4 separate regions of the Homo sapiens genome follow, and all the other regions are linked to region 1. Evidence: promoter capture Hi-C in human tissues and cell types (Jung and others, 2019). All regions are on one chromosome and are shown on one strand. The core of a region is centred on a gene start or on the middle of the fragment in contact, and the rest is flanking DNA. Distances in the headings are between cores, read along the strand shown. Region 1 holds the start of PCBP3 (poly(rC) binding protein 3). Region 2 holds the start of DIP2A (disco interacting protein 2 homolog A). Region 3 holds the start of LSS (lanosterol synthase). Region 4 holds the start of SPATC1L (spermatogenesis and centriole associated 1 like).

Region 1 (7,130 bases), core at 2,365-4,864:
CCAGGCCCAGGCCAGGGGCCAGTCAGGCAGTGCCGCATGTGGGAGCTGCCTCTTCAGCAGGGGGACAGGGGAGAGGGCATGAGGGGACCCCTGAGCTGCTTCACCTAATCCAAGTACAAACACCACAGCACCAGGTAAGTTAGGTCAGGTGCACTTATGATGAGGCTGATATAAAAAGGAGGAAGCGGAAGTGGGAACTATTTTTAGTTTCTGTATTTCCCTAACCAGGGCAGCTGGCACAGGGATTGGCTTCTTGGTCTCTGATTTCCACTCCAGCACTTTGGCCATCAGAGGATCCTGTGTGAGCTCAGCTGAGCCAGCCCCAACACCCCCCAGCAGCTTTTGGTGGGCAGTGGCAGCGGTCCCTGTGCAGGGCAGGAGCCTGGGGAAGCAGGGGCTGGGTGCTGCTGGTCCCTGGAAGAAGGACTTCTACCCCAGTGCTTTGTGAAGAGGACATGAGGGCAAAGTACTAATTTGCCCCTAGGTAACATGTGTGCTGGGGTTGTAGGCTGAGGTAAGGGTATGAATTCTGCCTGAGGAAAGGCTCAGCCTGGAGTGTAGTCCTGCTGAAGGCCAGAGACCACACACTCCACCCAGACTCCGGATCTCCCTCCCCAGCAGGGGGATGGAGGCCCTGCCGCTGGGAGTGCTGGTGTTATGTGGAAGGGCTGGGCTTCTCCAGGGCTCCTGGGAGGCCTAAACATCTTGCAAGGTTTTGACGTTAATTACTATTATGATTGCTTTCTGTGTGTTACTGTTTTCCCCACACTTTAGCCAGCTAATGTGGAGCTACAGAAGGCCCTCGCCCCTACCCCTCCAGATGTCCCAGCCCATGACAAGCAGGAAGGCCGGGTGCTGGGAGACTTCCTGGGGCTGGATCTGACATCATTCCAAGCAGATGATAACCTGCCTTCCCGATTTCCAAACCCACAGCAAGACACCCTGGAGTTATTTATAAATGCGAGCCCCTGGGTGCACTTCTGACGGGACCAGCACCCTGACGGCCATGAGAGGGTGGAGACAGCGCACCCCGAGCTCAGGGAGGCAGGAAACTCTGGACCTGGAGGCCGGGCACCATGAGGGACACGCTGCAGGCCCAGCTGCTGCCGCCTGGGGCGGGGCTGCCCTGCAGGCTCCGGGAAAACCCAGAACCAGGCCGGATCAGCGTGTGTCAAGAGGCGGGGCGTGAGAGATGAGCTGCTTTTTTTCTTCACAGGGTTGGCAGGAACTGCAAATAATAGAAAGTCTTTAGGGTCTAACACGCTGCCCTGAAAACACTATCATTACTTTCCTAATGACTAACTGTGTCTTTCAGCCGGCGGGGCAGGCAGCTGAGGCCGCAGGCTCCCGCAGAGGACCGGGGGAGGCTGGCAGCCTGTAATCTGGGGGCGCTGACAGTGCTCTGCCCAGACCCTCGCGCCAGCTCCAGCTCCAGCACAGCAGCCCTGGGTCCCTCTGGCCCCCTGCCCGCAGAGTCCAGGTGTGGCAGAGGCCGCCCAGTATCCCTTCTCCTCCTCCTTTTCTAAAAACAGAGTCTCACGATGTTTCCCATGCGGGTCTCCAACGCCTGGGCTCAAGCGATCCTTCTGCCTCGGCCTCCCAAAGCGTTGGGATTAAGGGGCGAGCCACCGCGCCCGGCCCACCTTCCCTTCTGGTTCATTTCCAGTAAGGTCCTGTCCACAGCGTCCTTCCCAGCATTCCCACCAGGCTGCAGGCCTTGGCCTCCCTCCCCTCCATTCTCATTCTCCCCGAAACCGCCAAGCGCGTCCAAAGCACGGGTTCGCCAAGCGCCCCCCCCGCCCCACTCCACATTCCCTTCCCCGCCGACTCAGCCTCCGTAGCTCGCGGACGGCCCCTCCTCACGCCAGCCCAGGCTTTTTTTTTTTTTTTTTCTTCTATTTTAAGGTTGTCTTTTAATGACACAAGCGACATTTGGAGACAAAAGGACACATCTCTTCCTGACCCACCTCCAACCCCAGCTGACGGCCGCCCTGAGCCTGGCGTAGACGGCCCGGAACGTTCCCTGCGTGGGTTCCGTCCATCCCGAACCCCTGTCCCCGCGCCGGCTCCGGGGGTGCTCGGGGGGCCGCGTGGGGTCTGTGACGTCGCCTCGAGGCTGCATCCCGGTGACCCGGCAGCCCCTGGCGCTCGCGGGAGGCGGGCGGGCGCGGACCCCAGGCTTTAGGGCGCGATTCCTGCAGCTGGCTGCCGGCCCGAGGTTCTGGGGTGTCTGAGGTCTCGGGCGGGGCGAGGACGTTTCTCCGGCTCAGCCCCCCCACCTCCTGCCCTGCCGCCCCCCACACCCAGCTCCCCACGGACGCCAAGAGGCGCCTCCCACCCCGGCGAGGACCCGCGGGGAAACGGGGCCCAGGCGCGGCGACTGCGGAGGACGCGCCTCGGCCCCAGCGCCCTGGTCCTCGGGGCGTCCGGCTGCCCTTGCCCGAGGCCGGGGCGGGCGCTCAGCGCCGCGGAAGAAACGCCCGGGCGGGGACGCACAGCGAGGCGGGCTCCGCGGGAAGTACCGGGAAAACGGCGCGGAGCGGAACAGCCCGGAGCCAGCCCAGAGAAAGGGCGGCCTCCCCCTGCAGCCCCCGGGGCCCAGCAACGCCCCGCCCCAGGCCACGGCACGCGAACGCCGGGCGGGCGGAGGGGACAGGGCGGCGGGACCAGCGCGGGGCGGGCAGCGTCTGGGCACAGGCTCACGAGCCGCTCGGGGCCCCTGCCCGCCGGGCGCTGCGGCCCCAGCCTCCGGGCCGGGGCCAGGCCCACAGAGAACGGGAAGCGGGCGCTGCAGGGGGACCTTCGGGGTTGCGGCACGGCTGGGAATTCAACGGCCATTCCCGTCCCGTCGGGCCCACCCGCCCGCCCGCCAAATCCCCGCCCACCGCGGATCCGCCCCGTCCACCAAGGTCTCGCTCACCAACGGCCCGCCCCGCCCACCACAGGCCTGGCCCGCCCACGAAGGCTCGCCCCGCCCATCCACGGCCCTGCCCACCACAGGCCCGCCCCAAGCCTGGGCCCCGCCCCAGCAAGGGCACTAATCCCCTAACCCCCGAGCCCCGCCCACTGCTCTTGCCCTTCTCCCGCCCGCCCCGACTTAGGCCTCTCCCCGGCCTGGCCTCCCGTACTCAGCCCCGCCCCTGCCCCGCCCCCACCCCACCCCAAATGTGACCTGCCCCTCCCACTGCCCGTCCCCTCCCCGCTTCACTTCATTAGGCCCCCGCCCCGATTCTTGCCCCGCCCGCTCAATGTCCCGCCTACGACCCCGCCCACTACTAGTGACCGGCCCGCCCGTTCGAGGCCCCGCCTCCTCCCCGCCCAATGCTCGGCCCCGCCCCGCGCGTCATTGGGCCAGGTCCCCGCCCCGCCCCCAGCCCCACCCCCGCCCCTTTGACTGGAGTTGGCTTTTTCCAGAGAACTTTCCGGGCTCGGATTGGCCGCGCCGGTTGATGTTCCGCCCTTTCATTGGCCCGCGGCGCCCGCTTTCGCGAGCCTGCCCTTGGGCGGGGGCGGGGCCGGCGGCGGCGCGCGGCGCTAGATTGGTTAGCGGCGCAGAGGGGCGGGCCCGCGCCGCGCGCAGCGCTCGGGCTGGAGCGCCTGAAGCCGCGACCGCCGCCTCAGCCGCCTCAGCCGCGGTCGCCGCCGCTTCGGCTGACTTAGGCTCCGCCGCCGCCTCCTCACCCGCCTCGCCCCGACCCCGCCCGGGCCTCCCGGCCTCTCCCCGCCGGCCCGCGGGCTCGCCGTCCGGCGCAGGGCAGGTGAGTGAGCGGTGGCGGGCGGGGTCGGGGTCGGGCGCCCTTGCGGGTTACGGGGACCCAGTCCCCGACGGAGGCCGAGTGACGGGGCGACCCCGGGCCGCGGCAAACTTCGCCCGAGCCGGGGCGGGCGGGGGTCCCGGGCTGGGTCGCGCCGTCCCCGACCGCCGCCGGCGCCTGCGGCGGCCCGGGGCAGCGAGGGGACTCGCGCTCCCTCAAGGTGCGGTCGCCAGGCCTGGCCCGCCCGCCTCCGCCCCCTCCCCAAATTCGGAAGTTGCGGCGGGAAGCCGAGAACGTCTCGGATGTGGGTCAGAAAACGTCTGGACTACTTGAGGCTTCAGTTTCAAAACGGCACAAATTTCATCTCTTGATTGAGAAGAGATCTGGGGAACACCCCGGAGCGGCCGCGGCGGCTGGAGGGCGGCGGGGCGGGGCGCGGGGCCTCCTCCCCCTGGACGGCCGCCGGGAGAGCGCGGCCTCACCCCTCGGTGACCCTGCGGAGAGCCGCGCGCGGGCGGTGGGGCGCGCGCAGGTCTCTCTTGTTGCTCGCTGTGTTTTATTTTAATTTTGGGGGTGGTTAGAACGTGTTTCTTATTGTCCCCACACGTGTTCTAATTGGAAGTCTTGTTTCGTGAAAGAGTTTTTTTCTTTTTTTTGCCTGGTGATGTTTTCCAATTCCCTCCGCGCCACTCTGAAGTATATTACTGGCATAAGAAATTTGAAAGTTAACCAAAAGTCGGGTCCTAAATCTCGTGGCTCGGGGTTGGTTATCTTCCACCGTCCTTCAGAGCAGCCTGGATTTGCAGGTCTTGTTAGCCCTCCATGTGAGCCAGTAGCACTCTTAGTTGTTGAGTGTTTGTAGAGTGGGATTCGCCAGAAGGAATCTTGAGCAGCAGGGCCTTGCGGAGAGGCCTTTAGAGATTAGACTGGGCAACTTATAGACTCCCCCCATTTCAAAAATATTCCTCTGGCACAGGCCCTCACATATCCCTCTGAAATTGAACTCACTTTCAGGGGCAAACTGTTGCCCTTTTTCTTTTCTTTGGACTTTCTCAGATGTGGATCCCAAAGGAGTGTGCAAGGGTGCTTCCCTATTTAAGAGAACTAACTCCCAGTCCTCCTCATATTCAAGAATAATTCATCATCTTAAAGCGTGTCAGAGATACCTATTTTGGCCCCAAAAGGAGTGTTTGTAGAACAGTGGCACTCTAAAGGGATCATTTGCAAGATCTGAAAGGACCTAATTGATCATCACACGACAGAAGCAGAAATAGTTCTGGTGTTTTCAGGCTTGGAGATCTGTCAGAAAACATGGGGCCTTAAAACTAACAAGTGCAGTGACCGACTAACTGATGTCTCACTTTCGAGCAGTATTTTTTTTTTTTGCTTGTATGTAGATGCTGTTGTTTATACAGTGCAAGTTCATTACGAATGGTTTAGAACTTACGTAGCTTCACGTATTTTCTTAGTTGATAATATTATAAGGTTTTGAAAAAGTTTTGATGATAAATGGGGTCTTTATAACTGAAAAAAATGGACTCTGTCTAGAATTCAGGGCTTTTTGGCTGGCGTTGCCCCAGGTGCTGCTGATTAGTGGTGCTTTTGGACCTCAAAACATCACTTTCCCAGATATCTTTATAATGCTCATGGTGGGGGAAAACCCACACAGCTTTGTGGTTACGTTTTTAGCTATTTATGCGAAAAAGTTCAACATATAGTTGTATTTTGCTAGCTGTTTTGAAGAAGCTATTCTTTACCCTATTGTTCTGAGGAGGCTGACAGCATGCTGCATTTATAAATTTGAAAAAGCCTCACGAGCTTCTTGAACCAATCTAGCTATTCAGATTTGGATTCTGTGTATCAGTTTTGATTATTTCAGTTCCTGTGTCAATGGCAGAATCATTTCTATTTTTACAAAAGTCTCATGGCTTTATTGTAAAGGTGAACACTGAAACAGATTTTAGTAGATGTAAGTTGTGTATCCTCTCAGTGAAGAAGGCAGTGCTTTGGGCCATAACCAAGGAAAATACTTGCTCATGTATTGGAATTGCCCCAACTTAAACATTAGAATAAATGCTGTAGATTTTGGGGCAGCTCTGATGTCTCAGCTCTCATCCCTGGTGGCAGTGACTCAGAGGCAAGGCGTCATGGGCCCGCTGTCCATGGTGCTGAATCCGTGTCACCTGTTTCTCTCTCTCTCTCTCTCTCTCTCTCTCTTTCTCTCTCTCTCTCTCTCTCTCTCTGTGTGTGTGTGTGTGTGTGTGTGTGTGTGTGTGTGTGTTTTGGGGCAGGGGGAGCTCAAACTTCCTTTCCAGTGTACTTTAAAATTAATTTCAGAATTCATATTATTAAATAAAATTTGATCAGGGAAATTATGTTGAATGGGAGCGTGTCTTGAAAACACGCCATTTTATTCTTCTTTTTAAGGAGGATAATTATGCTACAACATTCAATTTCCTTTGCTTAGTCTTCACTGTCTCTCTAGGTGGGAGTTTTGTTGCTTGAGTATGGGCATCAAGTAACAAATCACTGACATTAAATGAAACCCTGTTTTCTTAACAACCATTCCTTTAAGAAAGTACCAGTTTGTTTTAGTTTGTTTTCTTTTGCTTATAACAGAATACCTGAAACTAGGTAATTTACAAAGCAAAGGAATTTATTTCTTATAGTCATGGAGGCTGAGAAGTCTAAGGTCCGGGGGCCAAAGCCACCAGCTCCACTCCCATGACAACCCACTAATCCATTAACCCATGAATGGATTAATCCATTTTATGAGGGCAGAGCCCTCTTGATCCAATCACCTCTTAAAGGTCCCACCTCTCAATACTGCTTCTGCATTGAGGATTACATTTCAGCATGAGTTTTGGAGGGGATATTCTAATCATAGCACCTTTATTACAATATAGACATACATCTGTAGGCATATATCTATGTAGGGGCAACTTGTTCCCAAAAGGGTTGACTCTAGCATGTTTTGCATTCTCCAGCATGTTGGTTCTCAGCCTTTCCTGGCGATGGGATCTGTTTATGTGTTGGGCTACTGAGTGGTTGCCAGGCATTCCTGTTGTGTTAGAGCTATATCTACTCTCTTTTCTCTAATATTGAGGACATCTTTGTAAATCATTTTACATGAATCTTTTCTTTCTCTTGAGGTTAATGTTGTCAGTTACTTTAGAATTGCCCCACAGGTTAGCAGTAAAAAAAAAACAAAAAAGATAGATGTCACTTGTGGTACAGAGATGTCACATGGTAGTAAGTTGTATATCAAGCTAAGCAGTGGATTGTTGAGGTGCTTTTTGTTATGATCATCTGAACTGATTCTGTGGCCCCATTTGTTGTACACTTAACCCAGGTTACTCTTTGACATCTCTTTTG
Region 2 (7,130 bases), core at 2,747-5,246, 820 kb after region 1:
AGCTTCCCCAAATGCTGAGATTACAGGCACAGGCCACCGTGCCTGGATGGATTTTTTTTTTTTTTTTTTTTTTTGCCAGCTGAGTAGTACCCTTCTTAGCTGCCCACCTGTTTTGCCTCCAGGGATGCCATGTTTATTGACCAGTTCTATAACCATACAAGTGAGGTCCCCTTGGCTGCCACTCAGACCCTGCTGGCTGCTATAATTGCAATCCTCTGACTTCTGCCAGCTAAGTGTTGCCTTTGGCTTCTTGGGTTTTTTTCTTTGGTCCCCACTATGTCCCAGAATGGCCTCTTTTGTCTTAGGATCCTATCATCCCCAGTGCTATCACCCAGCCAAGTTCTGGAACAGCCTTTCTATTGTCATTCTTGCCTACAGAGATGAGCCATCACTGAATATTTTAGTGACATCAGTGCCCCTTTCATCATCCTATGTCTAATGATCTTTATAAATGACGTGTTATTTACACCTTCATGTGGAATATGATCGTCTCAAATGTCTTCTAGATGCACGGAGTATATAAATTTCAACATGCCCACACCCCTGAACCTTTTACTCCCTTCCACCACTGTCTGCCATAGCAATTTTGCCATTTCAATTTTGCTTACCATGGCCCATGGCTTTTTCCAAGTGTGGTGTTTTAAAAATATACTGGCAAATTTTTTGATATTCTTCCCTTTAGAAGATGAAGCCTAATTCCTCTCCTTTTGAATATGGGTAATTTAGTGACTCATTTCTTCCAAATAGGAAGTAGCCGAAGTGATGGTATGCAACTTCTGAGGCTGGTTCACAAAAAGGATACAGCTTTCTTTTGTCCTTTGTCTTTAGATTGCCCTTGGAATCCAGCCATCATATTGTGAGAAAGCCTCGGCCACAGGGACCGGCCGTGTAGGGGTGTGCTGGCTGACATCCCCAATCTGGGCTGCAGCCAATCTCCAGTATCAGCTGTCAGACATTCGAGCAGATGAACCTTCACTCATTCCAACCTCTAGCCTCTGAACTGCTCCAGCTGAGGCCTCAGACACTGTGGAAGAGAGATAACCAATCCCCACTATGTCTGACCCACAGTAACCTAGAGAGATCACCGATCCCCACTATGTCTGACCCACAGTAACCTAGAGATAAGAAATGATTCTTGTTTTAAGCCACGAAGTGTGGAGTAATTTGTTAGGCAGCAGTAGCTATACCGCCATTCTAGGAGCCATCCTTGCAGGAAGTCTGCAGCCACTCTTTGCCAAGGTGTTAAATCACGTATTTCAATAAACACATCTATGCAAGTTTACATTCCAGCTCCCTTCATCAAGCACCCTCATAATCCAGCCCCAAACTTTCCCAGCTCCTGTCAGTACATGTTGGCTGGGTGGTACAGCTTGTTATGGGCTGAAGTGTGTCCCTCTCAAAAGATGCTGAAGCCCTAACCCCTGGTCAATGTGAATGTGACATTATTTGGAAATGGGTCTTTGTAGACAAGTTAAGATGCGCTCATTAGAGTGGGCCCTAATCAGTATGACTGGTGTCCTTCTAAAAAGAGGCCCATGTCGAATGACCTTTGTCAATGATGTTACTTATGCCTTCGTCTGGAGAGACACACACAACAAGATCACCATGTGAATATAAAGGCAGGACTGGGACAATGCCTCTATAAGCCAAGGAACCAAAGACTGCCAGCAAACCACCAGAAGCTGGGAGAGAGGCATGAGACAGATTCTCCCTCCCAGCCCCAGAAGGAACCAACCCTGTGAAAACTTTGATCTCAGACTTCTAGCCTCCAGAACTGGGAGACAATAAATGTCTGCCCAGTTTGTTACTGAAGCCCCAGCAAACTAATAACGCAGTTCTTCTGAGGGGGAGGGAGCTATATTCTCTTTTCTATCTCATTGTTTCCAGCTGAATAATGCAAAAGAAACAACCATAATTATACATCTACTGAGCAGTAAGTGGAGGGAGGAGGAGTAGTGTCAGGTTAATAGGAGAGGTGAGCCACCCCGGCAGGCTTCAGGTTCAAGGCAGGCCAGGTGTGATGGCTCACTGGAGCCTAGAAGTTTGAGACAAGCCCGGGCAACATAGCAAGACCTTGCCTCTACAAGTAATAAAAAATGTATCCAGGTGTGGTGACACATACCTGTAGTCCCAGTTACTTAGGAGGCTCAGGTGGGAGGATCGTTTGAGCCCAGGAAGTTGAGGCTACAGTGGGCCATGATCCAGCAACTGCACTCCAGCCTGGGCAACAGAGTGAGACACTGTCTACGAAAAAAAGGTTTAAGGCAGTTTGGGGAGTCAAAACCTTTGAAGGCATCTACCCAGGTATCTCCAACCCATGTATGACGGGCTTTTCTTTTCTTTCTTTTTTTTTTTTAAAAGACAGAGTCTCACTCCTGTTGCCCAGGCTGGAGTGCAGTCACAGCTCACTACAGCCCTGACTTCCAGGGCTCAGGTGATCCACCCACCTTAGCCTCCCAAGCAGCTGGGACCACAGCCGTGGCCACCATGCCCGGCTAATTTTTTGTGTTTTCAGTAGAGATGGGGTTTTGTCATGTTGCCCAAGCTGGTCTTGAACTCCTGAACTCAAGCAATCTTCCCGCCTTGGCCTCCCAAAGTGCTGGGATTACAGGTGTGAGCCACTGTGCCCAGCCTCATCTTTTCTTAGCAGGGATCCAAACTTAGTGGAAGAGTATTGCCTTGTTTGGGTGTTTTGCTATTTTTGGAGTTCAGTCAAACAGGGATGTTAATTCCTGGGCCTGGTTCTTGTCTTTGACCTGCTGCAGTAAATGAAGCTTCTCTATATGTAACGGGACAGATTCACTGGCTTACAACTGTTTGTTGCTTGCCTTCAGCTGACCACTATTCTTAAGAGTCTCGGTTGGCACTAAGCAATAGCTATCCAATCCCCCTTTCCTTCCTTTTATCTACTACGTTCACCATATATGAAATGTCTGATACTTCACCCACTCGTGGATTCCATTTCACTAGTTCACCCTCCTACTTCACCACTGGTGAGTGATGCAGCCTCGAATCCCATCTTCTCACCAGCTTTAATGCTGCAGAATGGTTTCTCCAGAAGCAGACGCTGCGACTGAGTTTGGGGTACGAGGATGTTGACATGGTATCAACACCCGTGAAAGGAAGGGGAAGGAAGCAGGACTGGGCGGAGGAAGAAGGGTATGTAAGTCCCGCAAAGCTTTGGCCAACCTCGTGTGGAGCTCTGGAACGAGAACTGCTGAAGTTCGCCAGACTCGGGCACTCCTGCCTAACTCAGTAACAGGCGGGCGGCATCGGGACACGGACACGCTGCTCAGGCCCCGCCACAGCCACCCTCGCACCGTCAGACACACTCCCACACATTCGGGGAGCAGGGCCTTCAGGACGCCGGCGGCGCCCTCTCAGTCTAGCTCCGCCAGGCCCCTCGTCCGTCCTCCCGCCCTCCAAGGTCACCTCGCGGTCCGACATGGCTGCTGGGGCTCCTTCGGGGCCAACGATGTGTACTTCTAGGGCTGTTTTTTAAAGCAAAGGAGTGAACACAGGTAAAGGCACGAGAAAGGTGCCTCGACGCCACCACGGACTGCGCAGCGTTCGCGATCAGCACAGCCCGAAAGGGAAGACAGCGGTCAACGCGGACGCGCCATGGCGCGGGGACCAAGGAGGAGCCCCGAGAGGGGCGGGGCTGGCCGGAGGGCCGCGCGCGGGGCCACCAGCGGCGCCTAGGGGTCAGCGCCAACGCCCACGGGTTGGTCATCCCCACTTAGGCGCCTCGGGCCGCAACTAAGCAGCCTGCCCGCCTCAAGCCCGCCACCCTCAAGCAGGCCCAGCGCAGAGCCTGTCGGGAGCGGCGCTCTCCCGCCTCTCCCAATGGGAGCCCGGAGCGGCATCGACGCGTCTTCGGGGCCAATGGAAGCGAGGCTCTGGTGTTGCTGGGCGGGGCCGGGAGGGCTGCGCGGGCCCGAGACCCACTGCGCACGCGCGCTCGCTACCCGCCCTTCCCGCCGCGCACGCGCTCCCGTGTAGGGCCGGCCGGGCGCTCAGGAGCGCGCGGGGCAGCGGCGGCGCGGCGGAGCCATCCGCGCTCGTGCCCGCGCGGGTGCGTTGCTGTCCTGGCCGCGCCCCTGTCCCGCCGCCTCCCGCTCCTCGCCTGGCGGATGTAGGTTGTTGGCCTGAGGGGAGCTACGTAGCCGAGGTTTGCGCTGCCGCCGCCAGGCCCGGTCCGGTTCCAGCCTCTGCCCGGACGCTAGCCGGCCTGGCCATGGCTGACCGCGGGTGCCCGCTGGAGGCGGCGCCGCTGCCTGCCGAGGTGCGGGAGAGCCTGGCTGAGCTGGAGCTGGAGCTGTCGGAAGGTGAGCCGGACCCCGCCCTCAACCCCCGCGACCCGCCCTCAGCCCGGTCCCCCGCGCAGCCCCTCACTCCGGGACCCCCGCGCGGCCCCTCACTCCAGGACCCCCGCCCTTCACCCCCGGGACCCCCACGCGGCCTCGCCCCTGGGACCTCTGCCCCTCAACGGGACCCCGGTTCCTCTACCCTGGAACCCGCCCCTCGCCCCGGAGACACCGTTCCTCAACCCTAGGACCCCGCCCCTCATGTGGGACCCCAGCACGACCCCTCGCCCCGAGACCCCGGCCCCTTACCCCCGGGAACTCCCGCCCCTCACCCCCGGGACCTCCTGCCCCTCACCCCCGGAACCCCGCGCGGCCCCTCACCCCGGGGACCCCGCCCTTCACCCTGGGAGCCCCGCGCTGCCCCTCCGGACTCCCGACCCTCAGCCCCGGGACACCCGCGCGGCCCCTCAAACCAGGGACCACTGCCCCGCCTCTCATACAAGGACCCCTCCCCCATACAAGGACTCCTCCCCCCAGGCCCTTCACACCTGGGACCCTTACTCCTCACCCCGGGACGCCTGCCAAACTTCTGGAGACCTTTCCCTATCCCCAGCTGCTCCCCCAATGGGATCCGACCCCAAGGACTGGCTTTGACTAGGTCGTTTGGACAGGTGTGAGAATCTTGAGAGGAATGACCACTTTTGCCCCAAGCTGTGAGCCCCGCTTTTCTCAAGGCTGTAGGTCTGGGCTTGGTCTGGGCTTCACCAGGATGACTGCGCCCGTTGTCCGCAGGCAGCTACTTCCCTTGGAGCTGGGAGCCCTTGCCGCGCGCCTCATACTCTAGGAGCTGCACCCTGTGCCTCATTTTATTATCTATAAAGTGGGGTTATACCAGCACTTTCCATTTTGGATTGTTATGAGGCTAAAATACCTTAATATATGCAAAGCACATAACACTTAGGAGTTGTTAGCCCCCTCATGGAATTTTTTAAAGTAAAAAAAAAAAGTCGTATAAATGGTTGGTTGATAAAAATAGACTGGAGTAATCTGGCTTCAGAGGTGGTGGGTGGCATTTCCCATTTGGATGTTATCCCTTTCAAGGCCTGTGTCCTGATATTCCTTTTGGCTGTCTTTGGGAAAGAGTTAAGTTCTTCTCCAGTGTCAGAAAGGACTTGCAGTCCTTGAAGAAAAGCATGTAATTGATTCTTACTCTGTTTTTGAGATCTAAATGCATTTTCAGCTTTTAGAATCCATTTTTTAAATAATCTTATTATCCTTAATTTAAGTTTCAGATTGATAAGATTTTGCTGGGTCTGGGGTAGTTATTTCTCAAAACATCTAAATAATATGCACTAGCATACAGTAAGTCATTTAATCCTTGCCAACCTTAGGGAGGTAGATGCTGTTGTGATCTTGTTTTACATATAATACAACATGTACTTGCAACTATTTTGAATTCAGCATTCAGATTTTTAACAATGTTGTGACATGTGGCACATTTTTTTTTTTTGAGACGGAGTCTTGCTCTGTTGCCCAGGCTGGAGTGCAATGGCGTGATCTCGGCTCACTGCAACCTCTGCCTCCCAGGTAGAAATGATTCTTCTGCCTCAGCCTCCCGAGTAGCTGGGATTACAGGGGCTTGCCACCACGCCCAGCTAATTTTCGTATTTTTAGTAGAGGCAAGGTATCACCATGTTGACCAGGCTGGTCTCAAACTCCTGACCTCAGGTGGTCCGCCTGCCTCGGCCTCCCAAAGTGCTGGGATTACAGGCATGAGCCACCGTGCCTGGCTTGTGGCACATTTTTAAAAATGGAAGTACAGGCTGAGTACACAGTGGCTCATGCTTGTAATCCCAACACTTTGGGAGGCCACGTTGGCTTGGAGACGGGAGTTCAGAACAGCTTGGGTAACATAGCAAGACTCTGTCTCTACAGTATTAAAAAAAATTAGCTGGGCATGGTGGTGTGCACCTGTAGTCCCAGCTACTTGGGAGGCTGAGGCAGGAGGATCACCTGAGCACTGGAGCACTCCAGCCTGGGCAACAGAGCGAGAACCTGTCTCTTCTCACCAAAAAAAAAAAAAAAAAAAAAAGGAAAGAAATGGATGGATTTGAGAATTCTTGGTGATTAGATGCTCCTAGGCAGTCTGACAAACTTAAATTAGGAATGGGTTTGACAGGATCTACTGTACTGCATTTGTTAAGGCTCTTTAGGGAAAATCACATATACGCAGTTTAGATTCTGTGCATTTCAAACATATTTTTGCGTATTGCTCCTAATTTCTGCTCCAATGTATTCATTATTCCCTCAATTTTTTGTGTTGTAGTTGTGTTTGAGTGCTTGCTAGGCATTGACAATTGAATCCTTTCCTCAAAGAACTTTATAATTTGTGCGACAGAACACAAGTACTTAAATGAAAGAAATGTTTCCTATCTGTTGGATCCATTTATGCTATTGTCATCTTAGAGATATGTAGGGGATGTATAGGTAAGTAAAGGTATAAGATTATGTAACATGGAGAGGAACCTCGAAAAATAGCTTAAGCTGAGAAAGGGGGTAAACAAAAAAAGTATTGAGCCCAGAAATGGTGGCTTAGGCCTGTTATGTTTGCATTTTGGGAGGCCCAGGCAGGAGGATCACTTGAGCCCAGGAGTTTGAGACCAGCCTAGGCAACATAGGGAGACCCTGCCTCTTCCAAAAAAAAAAAAAAATTGGCTGGGCATGGTGGTGTGTGCCTGTAGTCCCAGCTACTTGAGGGGCCGAGGTGGGAGGATCACCTGACGAGGTTGTGAGCCTTTATAGTGTCACTGCATTCCAGCCTGG
Region 3 (7,130 bases), core at 1,382-3,881, 590 kb after region 1:
AAAAAAAAATACAAAAAAACTCCAACTCACAGCCAGCCCACAGGAAGGGTCCCAGCCAGCTAAGCCCAGAGCCAAAGCAGCAAGAACAAACAACACAGTAATCCCCACTGACCAAGCACCACTGCATGCCTGACACTGTGCACATGACCAAACCTGATTCCAATCCTGTCACAGGTCAGGCTACAGAGGCAAAGTGGGGCTGACCCATCTCCTGACCAACTCTATGTCATTGCCTTACCACGAGCCCTGAGAACAGTCTAAACAGGCCCTGATGGGGCCAAGGGAAGAAGAGCACCTTGACTTCCCCTAAGGACAGGCCCTCAAATCCCAGGACAGAAAAACTCAATGCTGTACAGTCCAGGTGGCAGCAGGGCTAGAAGTCAAAGCAGAGATGGGGATCCCAGTGCTCCTCCTGCTAGTCTGGTTACCTGGAATAAATGTGCCTCAGCTTTCTAATGTATCTCATTAGGCTTATTCTAAGGACTAAAAGAAGAACAGGCCTTGAGCAGGGCTTGGCCTACAGTAAACACCATGGAACTGTTTTTAACGTTAAAGGCCAACTCTTCCCAAACTAACATATAAGCCTATTGCAACTTCATTTCAAGTCTGGGACAAAATCAGGATAAAGGCAATTTGGATGAGTAAATGAATAGACACAGGTAAGAGATGTTTTAAAAAGAAAGGCAACAAAGGTATATAAGGACTTTCTATCTATTACAAAGTCAGCGTAGTAAAAGAAAATGATGTATCAGTAAGAGTTATCACAGAAACAAAACCTATTTATGTAGGAATTCACGTCATTGAAACAATGTGATTACAAGTCACTAGGGAAAAAAGTCCTATTGCATAAATTCATAGGAGGGAATTTCCCATTTTACAAGGCTGAGGATTTCTGTAGAGAAACACTCCCAGGATGCAAAATAGTCTTGTGTAGCCAAATCAGTTCAATACCCAGGCAGTCCAACTGCTATGCTCCTCCTACTCACCAGCCTGAACCTGAAGCTCTCCTGCAATAGCCCCGAGGAAGTTCACAGCAGATATCAGCTCCCCACCCACCACTCTGCCCACCTACAGCCCCTTGGCATAGGCTGGGCCTTCCACCTGGAATGTCCATCCCATCCTGTACTGAGACTTCAAAGCCCACCTTCCTCCTCCCTCAAGGCAACACAGAGCCCTAGAGAACCACTTGCTTCTCTTATCAGAGAGCCTGTCACCCTACACTGGCAAGGCTAGCTGATCCCCTAGACCAATAGCAGGACGACTCTGACATAGGGCAGAGTTTGCCAGCCCTTTTCTTGTGAGCCCCTGGATTTTCACCTGCTTCATCAAAACCCTAGACCAGGCTGGGCCAGGATCCCAAGGGTGATCCAGGGTGGCCATACCATCAGGCTGGGGCAGCATACTCCTACCTGGCAGGAGGAAAAGTGGGCCACCATAATCACCCGTCCAGTGCCCATCCTCAGCCTGCAGCCCCACGTAAAATGTCATCCCGTTCAGAGCCCCCTCAAAGGCGGTGTGGGCTTTGGGCAAGTCCTTAAAGTAATTCTTCTGCAAAGAGATCGAAAAAAAAAAAAAGAGATAGCTGACGGGACTGTTGCCCGGCCAGAGGAACCCTCTTCACATACAGCCCAAGTCAAAACAGTGAATGTAAATTACTTTAAAAGTTTCAGCTGTTTCCATCAAAAGTCTGAAACTCTTTGATGAGAGCATCACACCTCAGCAAAGTAAAAGAACAGCTGCACATTTTCGTTGCTTTATTTGCCAGTCATGTATTCTTCACAACTTCTCCAAGATGTCTGGAATAAACCAGGCACCCAGACTGTAGGGTGGGGCACGGGTGCCGACCTGGGCCTGGGACTCGGGCCTCTCAAAGAGGGCCCAAGGGGCGGCACAGCCTTTCCCTCGGTGGCCGGGGCTCGGCAGGAGACCCTGTTTACACTGCAGACTCTGACGACCAAAATCTCTTACAATGCACACAACTAAGACAGTGGATCCAAACACTTTTTGTGAATAAAAACAAAGTTACAACTATCTTTGCAACTCTCCTATAAGTCAAAAATTATCTCAAAATAAGGTGCTAAAAAATAAAACATTAGGAGTCTCCTATGCGTGGTTTAGAGATGAAGGGGCTGAAGCGGAGGGGCCCGCGAACGCAGTTCCCGTGGGCGCTCGCCTTGGGGATGGGCGTCGCTGGCCGGGTCCTCCCACCCGCCTTTCTGAGAGAAAACGTGCTCCTCACGGCTCACCCCTCAGGGTCCCGAGCTCGCTGACGCTCCGCGGAAGCAACTTACGGTGTCCAGCCCCAGGGCGTAGGCTTCCAGGCCGGTCTGCTCGCGGCCGGCGCGCTCGTCCTGCAGGTAGGTCCACGTCTGCCGGCCCCTCTCGCAGTTGAGTCGCCAGCGGCCGAGGTCGGTGGCGGGCTCGGTCTTGTAGGGGCCCCCTCGGCGCCGCAGACACCTGAGGACCACCGGCCATCAGCGACCCAGGCCCCGCCCCAACGCCGGCCGCCGGCCCACTGCCCCAGTCGCGCTCTCCTCAGCACCTAGGACCACCCCGCATTCGTCAGGAGCCCGGGGCGAGGGGACTCACGTGCCCTCCGTCATTGCTGCTGCAGTGCTCTACGCCGCCCACTGCCAGCTGCCAGATGTCCGCACCCGGGACCTGCCGCCCAGCCCCGCCCCTCCCGCCCCTCCCGCCCCTCCCGCCCCTCCCGCGCGCACTACGCAGGCGCAGGCCTCGGCAGGCGCTCAGGCTTAGGTGGGCCGACGCCCACGCAACCAATCAGAGCGCCGCGAGCGTGACCCCGGGGTGTGCCAGGCGACCACAGTGGTGGAGCGCTTGGTGCCCCATGCGGCGTGGGGCGGGGCCTGAGGGAGCGGGGATGGTGGGTGAAGGCGACGGGACGGGGGAGGCGGGTGGGGCCTTATTGGCGGGGCATGAGGGGCGGGGCTGGTGGGTGGGGAGGTGGGGGCGGGGCTGGTGGGTGGGGAGGTGGGGGCGGGGCCTGGTGGGTGCGGGTGGGGGCGGGGCTGGTGGGTGGGGCCGAAGGGCGGGGGCGGGGCCTCTCGCGCGCCCTCTAGAGGCTTGCGTCCCGGGAGCCCGGCCTCGTGCGCCGCGCTTTGAGGTGAGCCTCTCTGAGAAATTTGTGAGGAGGGTCCAGCCGCGGGTCGGAAGGAAGGACGTGGGGAGCGAGGCTCGAGCGAGCGACAGCGAGTGCGAAGGTCGGGTGGCAGGGAATTGCTCTCGCGCTGCAGGATTTGCCCGGACGCCGGGGCCGGGGGTGGGGGCGGGAGGCCGCCCTGAGGTGAGGTGGGCGCGGGCCGTCGGCTCCAGTGCGAGACCAGGGGGAGGGCGGGGCGGAGCGGAGGAGCCGAGGGCGCCGCCGGCGTCCCTGGGAAGCTGAGCGCCGCGTAGCTTCGCCGGGGGGAGTGGGGTAGGCGCGGTGAGGCCGTGGGCCCCCACACCTGGCGGACCACAGGGGCCAGAAGCCCTGGAGCCCCGCCAGGGAAGGGCTGCGTCGCTGGCCAGGACCGAGCGCGGTAGAGCCTCAGCTGCTCACGGGGTCGCTGGAGTTGGGGGTGGCCCCAGGAGAAATTAAAGGTGAAAAGCCTTAGCAGCAGAGGGAAGAGGAAGATGGAGGCAGAGCGAGTGACCGAACTTGGAAGGGACAGCCGGGCGCAACAGGGCAGGGGGCGTCTGACTGTTGGAAACATGGCTGACGTCTGGAGGCTGCAGCCAGTGGTCCGTAAGTCAGGTCAAGGACCCACAGAAGACCCCAGCATGTCTTCACCTGGCCCACAGAAGCCCTGACATCCAGTTACAACTGCCCCAGCCTAGTGAGCATTTCGGCACCCACTCCTCAATTCCTACCCCCAGCCTAACTTCGAAGGGGCGGTGAGCCACAGCAAGCCGGAGGAGAAAGTTGGAAGAGAGAGTGGACAAAAGAATACCCACAGGCACCTTCCCCACAGTGGAATAGCGGGGTTTTAGACAATCAAGGATAATCACCTCTTCCTATCCCAGTTCAGAAACGGATGAAAAAGACACAGCAATAAGATGGGTGGGTATCAAAATATCAGCTTTGCCACAAATTAAAAACCTAGCTTGAAGGACAAGGCTTAAATCTGCAAGCAAGAGGGCAAGCTACTAAATCACCCGTTAAGTCAGACAAACATATCCCCCAGCCTCTAGGCCATGAAACTGCCTCACCAAGCACTATGCAATTGAGTGCCCACCAGAAGACACCCCTCCAGTCAACCCACAGACCCCAGAAAGAGTACCCAGAGGAGCCTGAGCACACTCCACCCTATCTGTTCTCTGAAATTCAATCAAATGAGTCACTCTACTTCTCTGGAAGCAGAAAGAGGCTGGAAGTTTTTCTCCAGGTAAGTTCCTCCATGTAGAAACATGAAGAATAGGGATAAGGGGCTTCAGCCTGGATGGAATCTCACACTGAACCTGGCAAAGCTAGGTGAGGGAAGAGGTTTCAACTGGATAAGAGTTTGAGTTTTGATATCTTAATGGACTGGACTTTTTATGAGTAAAATAATCCGCTCTTTTTAATGTCTGAAAGAAAAGAAAAAGCTGTAAACTACGTCTGAGAATTGACACAGTTAAGCTTCTAGGGGCAGTCATGAGAAAAAACACTGTTCCTATCTGCTTACATACTACTGCATCCAGCTTATTCATTAAGCCAGATACAGAAGGCTCTGAGGATTTTGGCCTCAACAACTGGGTATATGGTGGTGGTCATTTACTAAAATAGAGGTGTCTTTTATTTATTTAGTGACAGGATCTCAGTCTGTCACCCAGGTGGGAATGCAGTGGCACAATCATTAGCTCACTGCAGCCTCAAATTCCAGGGCTAAGTGATCTTCCGGGCTCAGCCTCCTGAATAGCTGGGACTACAGGCGTGTGCCACCACACCTGGCTGATTTTTTTAAAGTTTGGTAGAGACACGGGGTCTCGCTATGTTGCCCAGGATGGTCTCAAACTCCTGGCCACAAGGAATCCTCCCACTTCAGCCTCCCAAAGTGTTGGGATTATAGGCATGAGCCACCACACCTGGCCTAAAATAGGGAAAGTTTGATTGGAAAATTCAGATTAAAGTGGGGACAAGTTATACTAGAGATGCTTATTAGACATTCAAGTGAAATATTGAGTAGGCTGGCATTCAGGAGAGAACATAATGCTAGAGATAGGAATTTGGGAGTCATTTGCTTTCAGGTAGTATTTGAAATCATGAGATTGGACAAGATGAATTAGGAAATGCACATAAAAAAGAGAAGTTCTAGAATGAGCCCTGGGGCACCGACCTTTTCCAGTATAGAGGAATGGCCAGAGAGAGGAGGAAAACCAGAGGAATATGAAGTCATAATATAAGTGAAGACATGGTGATCTTTGCTGAGGCTTTGAAGGGATTGCAAAATGAAGACAGAATTTATTATTGGATGCAACAAAACAATGTATTGGTGACTGACAAGAGCTATCTAAAGAGACATGGGGGGAAAAGCCTAATGGCAGAATTTTGAAAGAAATTTTCAGTTAAACATGGCAGACTGAGCATAAACATTAACCTCCATTTCCTGCCCAAACCCTACTCACATAAAGTAATAAAAGACCAAAAAAACCCCACAAAGAATGGGAGAGGAGACACTAGTAAGCAAGAGAAGTCAACAAAATTATAGAGACTGGGAATGGATGGAGAAGTGATAACTGAGTTAGCTAGAGAAAGTTGAGACTTACGTTTGTGGGTGAAGCCAACAAGAGACCATTCCTGCCAGCAAATACCAGGAAGGTGCAGAAATTGGAATAACTGGTGGAAAATTTTTGTGAGGAACAGTATGACCATAGATCCCCTCTCCTACTTGGGTGGAGGAAGTCTCCAGTAGTTGAATCAGAGTAGGTGTTACCTCAGGCATGAGGCATAGCTGAGGACCACTGAAAGCAGACAGATTGAGTTAAAGTCTACACATGTGGGTCCAGGCTCACTTCTCCCACTTAGCCAGATAGCATGAGATAGTGGGAGGATCCCTCTGGAGCAGCTGGCCCACAAGAGTCCTGCAAACACTGGCAACTATGACCTAGTAGAAAAACAAACCTATTAGCTGGCAGACTGTACCCATTGACAGTTTCCAACAAGCACCATCATCAGCATGAGCCAGACATTTGGGGAAAACAGTGCAACATTACCTCCAGCCATGCAAGTGATCCATCTTGGACCACTGACCCAGTCAAGCCTTCAGATGACTATAACCTCAGCCAATACCTGACTGCAGCTGCATGAGAGATCCCAACAGAAAGCTGCCCAGCTGAATCCTCCTCAAATTTAAGCTACTATATTTGGGGTAATTTGTTCAATAGCAACAAAAAAACTAGAAAAAAGGACTACAAAGTGCCCAGCACAATAAATTGGGCAGGGGTTGGGGAGGGAATGGGGAGGCAACATATGAAGTAATGTCATTGAGAAATTTGAGAACACCAGGAATAGAGATGATCTCAAAAATTTCCAGCAACAAAAAAAGCAAAAACACAAAGGAACGATTTCCAATCTAAAATTCTATTCTCATTCAAATGATGAATCAAACGTAAGGATAGATAAGTCCAAAAAACAAAAAAAAACCATTTCTTTACTCTCACAACATCCTTTTGGCACCAGATGTAGAGAATTTCTCCCCACCGACAAGCAAGCATTCAGCTGTACAGCAGACACCAGCTGGGTATCCGCTTCAATCCTGCACCGTCTACCTGGAGATAGCAGCAGATCACACAAGTTGAGGACTCTGTGCCGCAAGACTGAGCCCCATGTCCAGTGTCAATCACAAGCCCCAGGTTGTTTTACCTGTCCTTCTGGGTTCCCAAGACCCCTTCCTTGGCTTTAATTTACAAGAGCAGTTCACAGAACTCAGGGAAACACATGTTTATTACAAGGCTATTTTAAAGGCTACAAATAGCCAGATGAAAAGATACACAGGATGAAGCCTAGAAGAGTCCCAAGAGCAGGAGCTTCTGTCTGCAAGGAGTTGCGAAGTGCCATTCTCTCAGCATGTGGACGTGTTCTTGTCCACCTTCCTGGAAGCCCCCACACATTTGGCTATCCACAAGCTCTCTGAACCCTGTCCTTTTGGGTT
Region 4 (6,231 bases), core at 3,343-5,842, 540 kb after region 1:
CTCACTTGTAAACCTGGGTGAGAAGACCTGGAGACCTCGCTCCCCAGCTGACGGGGACAGATGAGCCCTCCTGTGACGTGGGAACGATGCCGGCGCAGTGCCCTCCTCCTCCATCAGTGGGGTGTAGGGACCGTTCAGAGAGCGTTTGACAGTGTCTGTTTCAACATTTCAAATGCACACAGCCTTTGACCCGAGGACCCAGGTGTGGGATCCCCTACACAAAGCCACAGGGCGCCTGCGCAGGCCACCCACGGCGGCGGCGTCCACGGTCGCAGAGAACTGGGAACAGTGCTGCCTGCCTGGGGCCCCCACAGAAGGAGCCCAGTGTTCAAGTGTGCCGGGGAGATCTGCAGATAAGGACTGGTGGGGAATGCCGCGAAATGGATCGTTAAGGGGGAAAAGTCAAGTTGCGGAACAGCACAATCCCGTGTAGGTGGACCAAAAAGATACACAGACAGACACACAGATCTCCACTAAAGTTCCAGAGAAAACCCAAGAGAACGTTGATTGTGGCTGCCTTTGCGGAGGGGGCCGGAGGCGTGGCCTGAGGCTTAAACGTTGCACCCTCCATGGCGTTTATAAGTTTACCATGAGCACGTGTTGTTGAATCCGTAAGAAAAGCAGGTTTTTACTCATCCTGTTTTGAACACAGATGCTAATGAAGTCTTGGCAACATGCAGACATTGCTGGTGGTGGTTCCTTTGTTTATAAACTTCTCCTTTTTTGCAGAAGCTCAGTGCTGGTCTTCCCAACCCCAGTTCTGCTGAGGGCTGGTCCTGAATGCAGCGTCCCACAGCCCCAGGTACATTCCCAAGCACATGCTGAGGCCCAGAGCATTAAGGGTGCACCACACGCTGCCACTCAAGTGGCAGAGTTTAGAGGGTGGTCTTGTCCAGGCCCCTCCCCGCTGCCAGCCCGGGCCACACTGAGCCTGCCCCACACCCTGTGGCGGGGGCTCCAAGGCCCTCTGTGGAAGGCCTGCTGGCCTCAGGTTGAGGCTCCTCCCAAGACCCGTGTCCAGCAAGACCTGGGTTTGCCAAGATGACCCAAGGGCAGGGGCAGCAGCCGTGGTCATGGAGACCCCGCCCGGACTCAGCCCCTGACAAGGGTCCCTCTGGGGACTGCACAGCCTGGGCAAGGGTTGAGGGTCTGCCCCTCTCCTGCCAGGGGAGGCACCAGCACTCTGTCCAGCCCTGAGGTCCGGCCCAGGGTGATTCCTTCTTGAGGAGGAGGACAGCAACGCAGCCCGGGGCACGCAGCCTGCGGCGGTCCACACACGCCAAACAGATTAAGGGCCCTTTTGCAGCCACAGTGCCCGGGCCTCACAAGTGCTGTGAACGGGACCCTGCACGTGGCCCAGCACCGTAAGCGCAGGTCTGCCCAGCAAACGCCCTGTGGTGAGCGTGGGGCTCAGTGGCCGCTGATGGAGACGCAGAACCTGGGGCCTCGCACAGCATGGCCCCCAGGCGCCAGGTTCCCCAGCCACACTGTCCCCGCACATCCTGGCGAGGTGCTCTCCTCCCAGCTCCCTGCGAGGAGCCCCTGCCTGTCACCAGAGACCAAAGGTGTGGGGACGATGCCATGGATTCCCCTCTTTGCTTCCAGACACGCTCGCTCTCAGGCTTGTCCATGGAGCTCCGAGCAGGGCCTGGGGCCTGGCTGCGGAGAGTGCCTCCTGCACACTGCGCCTGCTCAGAGTGCACATCTGAGGGTGGTGGCCAGCGTTTGAGAAGGACTCAGGAAGCAACCTCCCCCACCCCCAGCACAGGTGCTGGAGCGGCCCCTTGGTGAGTGGCAGAGCTGGCCTCCCGGGCATGGCTCGTGCTCGCAGACAGCAGTGTTCACGGGCACTGGCGAGGCTGCCTGCTCCATCGTCCAGGACCAGGCAGGCTGACCACGTCCTTTCCGGGCCCGGCCCGGTGGGAAGCTGAGGTTGGCCGTGGGAATCCCAGGCAGTGCTGGGTCAGGGACTCTGTCCTCTGCCCACCATCCCAACAAAAAGTCAAGGGTACATCTGTCAGCCCCACCCCAAATCACATGCAGGAACGGGTAATGTTTTTCCCAAACCTTTTAGAATAAAGCCTACTACTTTGCAGAAAGTGACCAAACCCTATATATATACTTTTTTCAGTAAAAAGCCACAGAAGGTCGGAGTCAATGCTATGTGGTGAGTGGATCATGGCTCCACACTCCCAGCCCCGCAGGGACAGGCGCCCACTTGTCCCTACCTGCTCCCCTGGCCGGTGGCTCTGAGGCCTCCCCAGGGTGGGACCTTCCCACCATGGGGCTGGCCTGGCTCTGGCCGGGGACATGAGTGGATGGGACACAGCACTCATGGGACTCGTGTGGCTGGTCTGACACCCCCCTCGCCCCTGACCCAGGAGAAGAGACACATGCAGCAGAGCAAACTGCCAGCCAGGACCAGCCTGGAAGAGCTGCCTGGGGCCCTGGAGGCCCACAAGCCTGCGCGCCACCTGCTCTACCCCTATGGGGACACTTCCATGACTGCAGCTGACCAGTCCACCTGCCAGCGGTTGACCACTCCCACTTCGCCAGCGACCGAAGGGGAGGGGAGGGGCCTCACCTGAGGGCAACAGCAGAACCCACCACCTGGTCTTGCTTTACTCAGACCTGAGGGTGTGAAAGGTGCCCGTGACCTCCCGCATCAGGGAGCTGGCCGCCACCCTCGACTCCCGGGGAGCAGGCGTCCCGCGACCCCCTCATCTACCAGGCCATCTGAGCTGGGCGGCGCCTCACCTCCGCTCCCGGGGGAGCCGGCCTCAGGGTAGGCATGCGCCCTGGGTGGGAGCAGGTCGTGGCCGCCGCCCTCCTGGCAGCTCTGGCTGAGCAGCCGCCGCAGCATCTGATTCTCCTTCAGGAGGCGCACCTGCTTCTTCAGGTCCGCGTTCTCGCTCAGGAGCCGGCTCATCAGCTCGCCGCCTTCAGCCATGGCGGGTGCGTCCCTCCTTGTCCCTCACGGCTCCTGCAGCCCCATGGAGGTGGGAGCCCAGAGCCCGCAGGCACCACAGAAACAGCCCAGGCACGGAGTTCCGTAGCCACCACCGCCTTCCACGCCTTGTGATGTCACTGCCCTAGTGATGAGGTGCCCAGCACCCTGCCTGCCCCCGCGATGGCTCATGGCCCCGTTGAGGCAGTGAAGCTGGAGGCCCGTGGCGTGCACAGGCAGCCACTCCCACATTATGACCAGGGCCCGAGAATGCCAAGGACATTAGGCAGCTACGGGATGTAGCGACTGTACTCCAAGAGGGGCGTCCAAGCCACTCCCCATTGAGCGGCCCAGCCAGGGTCGGGTGTCCACCCTGTGTGGTGTCCTCAAGCTGGGTGGGGACGCTGCCTTCACCCGAGTAACATGTGGGCTGCACTTCCCATAGGACCTGCCCAGGACACAGGGTTCCCAGTGCAGCTTCCTGTGGACCCTGGCACCCAGGGCAGCAACTGATGTGCAGGTGTTCATCAGGGTCCGTCCTTGGCACCCACACTTGAGGAGGGAGGGACTGGCAAGGGCAGTGGGAGGAGACCAGCATGTGGGGGAGACCAGCCTGGTGGGGAGACCAGCTTGTGGGGGAGACCAGTCTGCGGGGGAGACCAGCCTGGGGAGGAGACCAGCCTGCAGGGGAGACCAGCTTGCGGGGGAGACCAGCCTGCGGGGGAGACCAGCCTGGGCGGGGAGATCAGCCTGGGGGAGGAGACCAGCCTGGTGAGGAGACCAGCCTGGGGGAGGAGACCAGCCTTGTGGGGGAGACCAGCCTGCGGGGGAGACCAGCCTGGGCGGGGAGATCAGCCTGGGGGAGGAGACCAGCCTGGTGAGGAGACCAGCCTGGGGGAGGAGACCAGCTTGCGGGGGAGACCAGCCTGCGGGGGAGACCAGCCTGGGCGGGGAGATCAGCCTGGGGGAGGAGACCAGCCTGGTGAGGAGACCAGCCTGGGGGAGGAGACCAGCTTGCGGGGGAGACCAGCCTGCGGGGGAGACCAGCCTGGGCGGGGAGATCAGCCTGGGGGAGGAGACCAGCCTGGTGAGGAGACCAGCCTGGGGGAGGAGACCAGCCTTGTGGGGGAGACCAGCCTGGGGGAGGAGACCAGTCTTGCGGGGGAGACCAGCCTAGGGTGGGGAGACCAGCCTGAGGCAGCCCCACGATGGCCCCCACATGCTTTGGAGCACTGGGTGGCCCTGAGGGCTGGGCTGGAGGCCACCTACTGACCTCACTCCCTGATGAGAAGGGTCCAGCAGTGCATGTCCACCCCTCAGACCACGAGCGCCCGTGTCTAAGACACCAATTGTTCCTGACTGCACTGCTCCTGCCTGCACGTAACTGAGGACGCCCCCAACCCATGGCCACGGCCCCTCGGGCCGTCACACAGGGCTGCGGCTCATGGGGCCCTGCTAGAGCAGGCGTCTGTCCTCAGTCAGTGCGACCGACTTGAAACCCACCCTGACTCCCTGCTTCAATTACTTGGGAAAGTAAATCACCTCAGTGTTGTTTCTTGGCTCCGAGGGTCTTGTTTTATCAGCAGCCGGGATGCAACAGATGGGTCATCTCATCCTCATGGGAAGGGACGTACGGCAGAAAGCACAACCCAGTGGGCCGGCCACACCTCCAGCCCTGTGACGGGCACCCACCACCACCAACCCAGTGGGCCGGCCACACCTCCAGCCCTGTGACGGGCACCCACCACCACCAACCCAGTGGGCCGGCCACACCTCCAGCCCTGTGACGGGCACCCACCACCACCAACCCAGTGGGCCGGCCACACCTCCAGCCCTGTGACGGGCACCCACCACCACCAACCCAGTGGGCCGGCCACACCTCCAGCCCTGTGATGGGCACCCACCACCACCACCATCCCAGTGGGCCGGCCACACCTCCAGCCCTGTGACGGGCACTCAGGACCACCAAGGGCACTCAGGTGCAGATGCCCCTGGGAGAACACCACCTTCATTCAGCCCGGGCGGCCAGATTAGGGGAAGGTTGCTTCTAGGAGAGAAAGTCTTGAGTCAGGCTTTGTGGAGAAAGGAGGTTTCTACACCCCAAGCGTTCCTGACACAACCCAACCAGCCTGGTGTTGCACCACAGGGCTCACACCTCAGATCAAGACAACGGGGGCCCAGCCACAGCCCACTGACGAGGGCATGCAGGGCGTCCAGGATGCAGGGCAGAGAGAGAAGCGAGGGATGAGTCACGGATGCGCCCCCCGCTCTGAGCCCGACGGGGCCCTGAATGGCTTTTCCTGCCCTGGCTCCTCCCATCATATTTTAAATGCCGTCTTCCTCCCGCTCCAAGGAAACCTTCTCTTGACGTCAGGTACTCTCCAGCCACGGACCTATCAACATTCTGACAGTTTTCTGGTCTTGACACATTATCCTTTTAATATAGCGCTGGATTCAATTTATTAATATTTTAAGTATTTTTATGCTCACAGGGGAAGTCGATCTGAATCTCCTTTTCTTGTGATGTCTCGGTCTGGCTTTGGAACACTGGCCTTTTAAAATGAGCCGCAGAGATTCTGCGCCATTTTCTGGGTGTTCCTTCTTAAACGTCGGATAGAATTCATCTGTGAAGCTATCTAGAACTAGATTTCTTCTGGAAAAGTTTTAAATTTCTAAATCAATTTCTTAAATAGATACAACGCTACTTATATTTTATATTTTTCCCTCATGTGCGTTTTGCTGACAATTGTGGCTGTCAGGTAGTTTGTTGATAATAGGGGAGGCTGTGCATTTGTTGGGGCAGCGAGTGGGGAAATCTCTCTATCTTCCTCTCAATTTTGCTAAGAACCTAAAACTCCTCTTAAAAAAGTCTTGAAAAAGACAAAAGCACGAAGGAAACCAGAGAATATTTCAAGTTGAATGAGAATAAAAACATGACATTAGAATTTGTGGGGTGTAGTTAAAGCTTGATGCCCGTGCTCCACAACCACAGGAAATGGACAAACCCTACCAAAGTTATCAAAAGAGAAGGACACCCCATCTGTAGAAAACAGTCAGAAGATTAGGCAGATGTGGTGGTGCGTGTCTGTTGTCCCAGCTACTCGGAACACTGAGGTGGGAGGATTGCTTGAGCCTGGGAGGTCGAGGCTACAGTGAACTGTGGTTGCGCGGCTGTGCTCTAACTTGCGTGACAAAGTGAGACCCTGTCTCAATAAAATACTTTAATTAATGAAACTGAAACTTTCTGCTCTGCAAAGAATGTCAAGAAAATGAAAAGACAAGTC

The links. Contacts are between HindIII fragments. The study calls those that stand out against the background at their distance.
Region 2: a contact is called between the fragment with the promoter of DIP2A here and the fragment with the promoter of PCBP3 in region 1, in 2 of the 25 tissues and cell types used here (H1 embryonic stem cells and mesenchymal stem cells).
Region 3: a contact is called between the fragment with the promoter of LSS here and the fragment with the promoter of PCBP3 in region 1, in 2 of the 25 tissues and cell types used here (hippocampus and spleen).
Region 4: a contact is called between the fragment with the promoter of SPATC1L here and the fragment with the promoter of PCBP3 in region 1, in 1 of the 25 tissues and cell types used here (IMR-90 fibroblasts).

What each region holds. Positions count from the first base shown.
Region 1 is chr21:45,640,111-45,647,240 of GRCh38, forward strand. PCBP3 (poly(rC) binding protein 3) reads left to right here and starts at 3,615. Exons shown (of 18, transcript NM_001384156.1): 1 at 3,615-3,758. RefSeq lists silencers at 2,820-3,809, 4,130-4,269. The HindIII fragment of the contact is 13,348 bases long and covers 1-7,130 here.
Region 2 is chr21:46,454,895-46,462,024 of GRCh38, forward strand. DIP2A (disco interacting protein 2 homolog A) reads left to right here and starts at 3,997. Exons shown (of 38, transcript NM_015151.4): 1 at 3,997-4,328. The coding sequence starts at 4,238. LOC124905046 (a long non-coding RNA gene) reads right to left here and starts at 3,819. Exons shown (of 2, transcript XR_007067915.1): 1 at 3,433-3,819; 2 at 1-1,024. RefSeq lists enhancers at 3,211-3,350, 5,121-5,190 and silencers at 3,591-4,140, 4,331-4,400. The HindIII fragment of the contact is 5,308 bases long and covers 2,977-7,130 here.
Region 3 is chr21:46,226,143-46,233,272 of GRCh38, forward strand. LSS (lanosterol synthase) reads right to left here and starts at 2,632. Exons shown (of 22, transcript NM_002340.6): 1 at 2,590-2,632; 2 at 2,292-2,457; 3 at 1,410-1,548. The coding sequence starts at 2,603. MCM3AP-AS1 (MCM3AP antisense RNA 1) reads left to right here and starts at 3,089. Exons shown (of 4, transcript NR_110565.1): 1 at 3,089-3,124; 2 at 4,185-4,385. RefSeq lists enhancers at 1,887-1,956, 2,673-2,967 and silencers at 2,387-2,436, 2,497-2,666, 2,677-2,936, 2,997-3,436. The HindIII fragment of the contact is 14,795 bases long and covers 1-7,130 here.
Region 4 is chr21:46,179,867-46,186,097 of GRCh38, forward strand. SPATC1L (spermatogenesis and centriole associated 1 like) reads right to left here and starts at 4,593. Exons shown (of 5, transcript NM_001142854.2): 1 at 4,490-4,593; 2 at 2,758-3,908. The coding sequence starts at 2,950. It overlaps LOC124905045 (a long non-coding RNA gene), which reads left to right and starts at 4,681. Exons shown (of 2, transcript XR_007067914.1): 1 at 4,681-5,321. RefSeq lists enhancers at 235-838, 2,655-3,258, 3,259-3,862. The HindIII fragment of the contact is 12,071 bases long and covers 1,065-6,231 here.